2 separate regions of the Homo sapiens genome follow, and region 2 is linked to region 1. The links are contacts of gene promoters, found by promoter capture Hi-C in blood cells and fetal thymus (Javierre and others, 2016). All regions are on one chromosome and are shown on one strand. The core of a region is centred on a gene start or on the middle of the fragment in contact, and the rest is flanking DNA. Distances in the headings are between cores, read along the strand shown.

Region 1 (2,849 bases), core at 241-2,740:
TAGCCCCCATAGTTAGGTAAAAGACCCAGGTTCTGAGGGTATGTTCTGGGAAGTGGGGGGAGATGTTTGGGGTCCTGGGCACTGCCTGGTGAGTGCTTCTGCCCAAATTCCTGCAGTGCCTGGTTGGTGAGCACAGGAAAGCTGGAGCCGAAGAGGAAGCGGGCGCAGGGCACATAGCCAGTGAAGCCTGAGGATGGGGACACTGAGCCAAGGCATCCTGGGGCCTCCCCACGCCTCTGATCCTGACCCCCCAGCTCTCACCTGACATGAAGAACTTCCGAGGGTCCCTGTCATCCATGGAGTAGGGAGAAGCCTGTGAGAGAAGCCCCTGTGCTGTCACACAATCTCCCAAGGAGGTGGAGCTGACAATCAAGTGCACATCCCCTGAACCCACAGCCACACTACTCATGCTGCCCCCACTGCCCGGACACACAGTAAGACCCCCACTCCCACACCTCTGCACTCCCCACCAGCTTCTTGGTCTCACTTGTTCCACCACCTCCAGTGTCGGCTCCTCCAGCTGCCCCTCCGGCTCTGGCACCTGGTCCTTCTCTGTGTCCTTTCTTCCCTTGGCCTCCTTTGGTAGCTCTTCACTCCCTTGCTTTTCATGCAAGTGAGTAAAGTCACTCAGAGCCTCGGCCCAGACCTGGCTGCAGTTCTTGGCAAAGATGAACTGTGCCCGGGGTACAAAACCTGGGCAGGCAGGGACAAGGAAGACTCGTTAGTGTTTGGAACACATGCTCCTGGGAGGGGCACCTGTGCATACCTGCGTACAAACCTGTGTACCCAGGGATCATGCTGGAGCTGAGCCTTTCTTGCCCACGCCTGACAGGTAGACTCTCCCTGGGAACCTCAGGAGATCTTGGAGGCCGAATGGGAGGCAGAAGTGTGCGGTGGACAGGGGGCCAGGCTAGGCCAGGAGGGCCTCGAAGTAGCTGACCAGTCACCTGCCCATAGGTCTGGCCCACGCTGAACCGAAGTAGTGGGCAGTGTCCAGTGTACCTGCAGCACAGACTCTCCCACTCACCAGAATCGCCCTGCCCCGCCATCCCCAGAGGCAGAAGCGGAGACCTCTGAAGCCCTGATCTTTCTGGACTCAGCAGTGTATATATTTGGAGCAGGCATTTCTAAGTTCTCTGCCTGGGCTTTCGATCCTTCCTCTGCTGTTACCCTGTTCCCATGGAGAGAACAACACAAAGCTTTGGGGCAGACCCGGTGTCTCACTAGTCCCTTGCTTCTCCTTTTCCATCCACCACCATAGAGACCTCAGCCTCCCAAACCAACCTGTCCGCTTGGCCCCATGCTCTAAGCAGCTTAATTCCTCCACCCTATACCCCTACTCCCAGCAGCAAGCGGGGAGCGCTAAGTGGGAGTCTTACCCTGGGATATAATGAGGGTTCTGAGGGTTGAGCCCTGGTATGAAGGTGCTGGCCACAGCCATGGGGAGCCGGGCATTTCCTTTTGTTTGCCTTTGAGCCAAGGCTCTGGTCTGTGTGTACCGTGTCCAGGGCTGTGGGGCTAGAGGAAGGAGGCGGGGCTAAGGGAGGAGAGAAGGGAGGGGGCACTCGTGTGAGGACAGCCAGGGCGAAGGCCGGCAGAACTGTAGAGCAGAGGCTAGCAGGTCTGTCTGTCCAGGACAAAGGTGGTCCTGCTCGTGGGGCAGGGCCCGAACCGAAGGAAGCCCTGAGGTGGGACGTGGGAGGTGGGACGTGGGAGGTGAGGGAGCAGAAACCATTCGGGCCACTGAGCTCTGTCTCAGCGACTTCCTTCCTGAGCGCCTGCCTGAGAGGTGGACACTGTGTTCCTCATGAGTCTTCATCAAAGGAGATGGGGGACCTGGAGAAAGGATCTTTGAGGGAAGCCAGGGCCCAGAGGGGAGGTGAAAGAGGACAGGTGATGGGGGAAAAAAAGGAACCTAGACACCTCTAGGGAGTAACATCGTTTATTTTCAATAATTTAACAAGAGTGGCTTACTGAATACCTGCTATAATCAGAGTCATCCATTCAACAAATGAGCCAGGCTCTGCCAGGCTCCGGCCACAGTGGCCGAGTGTGCACTCCATGGGAGCCAGAAAAGCTGTGGGGGTTGAGGGAAGGAAACAGGATAAAGTTGTTGTAGGTGTGGGCGGTAACACTAGGGAGCAAGTTAGAATTTGTTAAAAAAATAAAATAAAATAAAAAATTCGGATTCTAAGAGAAGAAAAAGCACAGACCAGGAAGATGAGATCTCAGAGGACGGGGAAACATGTTTAAAACCCAACTCTGGGCCGGGTGCAGCCACGCTCACATCAACGTACTGAGGAGGCTGAGGTGGGAGGATCACTTGGGTCCGGGAGTTTCAGTCCAAACTGGGCAACACAGCCAGACCCCACCTCAAAAAACAAAACAAAACAAAAAGTTCTGGGGCTGGGTCAGGGCCAGGCTGAGGGCTCAGGGCCCACGTTTCTGAGGCAGAGCTCTGCTCTTCTCCCCACCTCCAGTGACCATGCCTGCGCTGACCAAGGACGGCACTGACATCCCAGGGGAATTACATAAGAGCACTGGGCTCCAAGGCACACATTTCATGTTCCTCACTGTTCTGCCAAGGACAGCCTTAGAATGTGTCATTTAGAGTTGTGGGGACTTACCTCACAGCTGAGGAAATATGTTAGAGTGAGGATGGGAGCCGAGGGGCAAGCCCAGAATAGCAGCAGTGTGTCAAGCTTAACAACCAGACTTGGGATTCTGTGACAGACACTATCACAGCTTATACCTATTCCTGACCCCCATCTCCTTTCTTCCGAGGAGCCAGAAACTGCATCAGGGAGGCTTGGAGAGCCAGCCTGGAGGAATGAGCTGGATTAGTCTAA
Region 2 (2,861 bases), core at 169-2,668, 830 kb before region 1:
GAACGTCTCCTAGCTGAGGAACGGGGAGACAGTGTTATATGGCATGGGATAATTTCATAGGCATCCTATAGGAAGCTGAATAGTAAGGCCTTTGACTCTCATCAAGAAAAGACTACAATCCTGAAAAGTCCGTACTCTAAGGCATGTCTGAGTACAGCATCGCTGTAACACAATGTCCCATATCTAATTTCATTTGATTTTTACAACCACAATGTGATTGAGGCAGGATTGTCAGTGTTTTGCTCATTTTGTGGATAAGAATGAGAGATGAAATGACTTCCACAGGGTCATAAAACTAGTAAGTTATACAATTAAGAACATCTGCTCTACTTTCTTAATTCTTCATTTCCAGGGCATTGAGGTACAGGATTTTGGAACATTCTCAAGTTATGATTTCCCACCCATGGAAATTTCAGTCTGGGGAACTGGAGTCTTCAGTGGCAGAGCACCTGGCTCTTGGCTCCAGAGGTCACAGAGGGACAGGATTCATGGGAAACACCCACAGTGGAAGGGAGTCAGAGGAGAGATTGGGACTTTACCTGTTGATGCTGCATCTCTAGCTCTTTGCCTGACTTTTTGGTGACACTTAGAAGACAAAAACATTAGAATGTGAAGCTGGGACACCATTTTCTTTCTCATGTCCAAAATGAGACAAAACTTACATACATTTTTCACTCGCTTTGTATATATCTATCTGTATTTTATACACTCTCCTGGACTTCCTTTGCCTATTCCACCTTTTTACCCCATTTTCCTTCTCTGCTTATTTTGGATTCACTTGGAGGCTTTTCCAAATTCTATACCTCCCATCTGATTCACAGAGAAGTCCTGCTGGATGCTGAGGATGACACAGGAGGAAAAGCAGAACAGACAAAAGGGTAAATGGTTCTAACAACCAAAGGACTTCTGCTTACAAAGCCCACCAACCGGAAAAATCCCCCATATTCAGAGAGCTTCCGAGATCCAGCAAGATAGACTTCATATTATCTAGTTCTCAATCCAAACCAAATAGAGAGGTTCTTGGCTTTTCAATCAGACTATGTTGCGGGAAGGGCCTGGTAAGGAATTATAGTCTCTGAGAAGAAAAGTATTACACAAAGGTAACTGAAAGTATGCTATAAAAATTCTGGGGTGGGGATTATAAGGGAGCACGGTAAGAACTTATAGGCTTCTTATCTGAGGCTTAATTAGTTCAGTTGGGATCACAGCCCTACCCGGCAGCAGCTCCTTTTAGGTTCTGAACTCAATTCATGGTGGCTCCTTTTCACTTGCCAGATAATTACAATAACGATGAAGATGGAGCCATAGATGTATAAGGGATATCCAACTTCCCACAGAACAAAAGTAGGGCTCAACATGGTCTAAACTTCATTAGCATGAGATCAACCATCCCTCTATCTCGGAATTCAGGGTTCTGGTGCCTAATGAATCCCAGTGCTAGGCCTTGTCATGTCCACCTCACAGAGGACGGAACTAGGCCACCAGACTGCATCACAAAGCCCTCCTGTTTCATAAGGTACATGTAGTAGGGAAGCTCATGTGGTGATTCAGTCTGTAGATGAGGGTGTTTTGAGCCTGGGACTGAAGGTGCCACAAGCAGTGTCTATTTCCTAGTCTGTCTTCACTTTCCACTCCCTATACCAGCCTGATGCCTCGGCTCTCTCCTTCACAACTGTATGGTCACCTGTCCTCAGAAAACTGAGTGCTTTGGCACAGGGGTCACCTCATAAGAAGGGGTAGATAGGCCGGAGGAACCTCCACTAACTCTCCCACTAGTTTTGGTAATATACCTGAGAAACACACATGAATTTAGGGAGGGCGGAGTCTGGTTATGGCTTGGAAATGGAGATCTTTGATGTTTTAGGCAATGGGTGATTGGTAACAGAGGTGCAGGAAGGGGACCATGGCTGATGTGGTAGGGTGGTAGGGAGAGGCCAAGGTGGTTGTACGTATCTGGTCTGTGTGGCCTCAAGCTTGCAGATGGGTTGGGACTGTAAATGCTACCTTCCATGGAGGCACATTCATGCTCAGGGAGATGAATGCCTGCAGAGATGGGTTAGTGGCCGCTTCTGACTGTGGGTCACAAGTGACTAGTTGCTGTTCATGGTTGGATGTATGCTGTTTGCCTGAGGATGTTTTTTTTGTTTGTTTGTTTATTTTTCTCAAATCTGTATTTTGTAAATTTTTAGGCAGGGCATGTGTTTTCCAATTCAGCTTCAGGACCCATTACTTCCATAGCCAGACTATTGATTTACCTGCCTAGCTTTTGTAGATATTGTGATATGCCACCAACACCTCAGTATTCCTGAATTTCCTTGAGAGAGTTCTGCTCTGGTAATGGTGGTCTCAGGCCAAGAAACCTTTGGGCTGAAAATCTCTGAAGAGGCTTTGGTCCTTCCTCAGTATCCAGCCCACCCAGCAGATGTGGTAAGCACCCAATATGTGCTCAGCCCTAAGCTGGGGAGTGTTGAGGATACAAAGACATTTGAGCCGCATTGGCTTTCTGCTTTCAAGATACTTAAAAATGTAGTTTCAAAGACAAGACTAATTCATACAAAGCAAGAGCCAACAATCACTACAAATAGACTTATATACTCATTCGTAAGGCTCTGGCCACAAACATTCCATTTCAGAGAAGAGAAATCATAGTGAGGATCATGGTCATCAGAGAGGGCTCCTGGGTAGTCGAAGTTAAGTTTAACAGTGCAGGTTGTGGGTAAAAGGACTCTTCCTGGTGGGAGAAAAACTTACCAGCTCATGCTGAATCTAGGGAATGGGCCATGGAGTTCATTTGGCAATAACAAATGCAGTGTATCTCTAGCAGAATATAGAAGGGTGGACTGGAGAGCAATTGTGAGAAA

The links. Contacts are between HindIII fragments. The CHiCAGO score rates a contact against its expected background, and 5 or more counts as called.
Region 2: the fragment with the promoter of SPATA31F1 here is called in contact with the fragment with the promoter of CIMIP2B in region 1 in 2 of 17 cell types (non-activated CD4 T cells and megakaryocytes); the score reaches 5.6 in non-activated CD4 T cells.

Annotation. Positions count from the first base shown.
Region 1 is chr9:35,562,388-35,565,236 of GRCh38, forward strand. It overlaps CIMIP2B (ciliary microtubule inner protein 2B), which reads right to left and starts at 1,491. Exons shown (of 6, transcript NM_001164310.3): 1 at 1,380-1,491; 2 at 779-1,002; 3 at 488-693; 4 at 262-313; 5 at 1-187. The coding sequence starts at 1,441. The HindIII fragment of the contact is 1,503 bases long and covers 1,198-2,700 here.
Region 2 is chr9:34,728,070-34,730,930 of GRCh38, forward strand. It overlaps SPATA31F1 (SPATA31 subfamily F member 1), which reads right to left and starts at 1,419. Exons shown (of 4, transcript NM_001141917.2): 1 at 1,215-1,419; 2 at 540-585; 3 at 1-13. The coding sequence starts at 1,358. It also overlaps a transcript of PHF24 not described here. The HindIII fragment of the contact is 7,130 bases long and covers 1-1,971 here.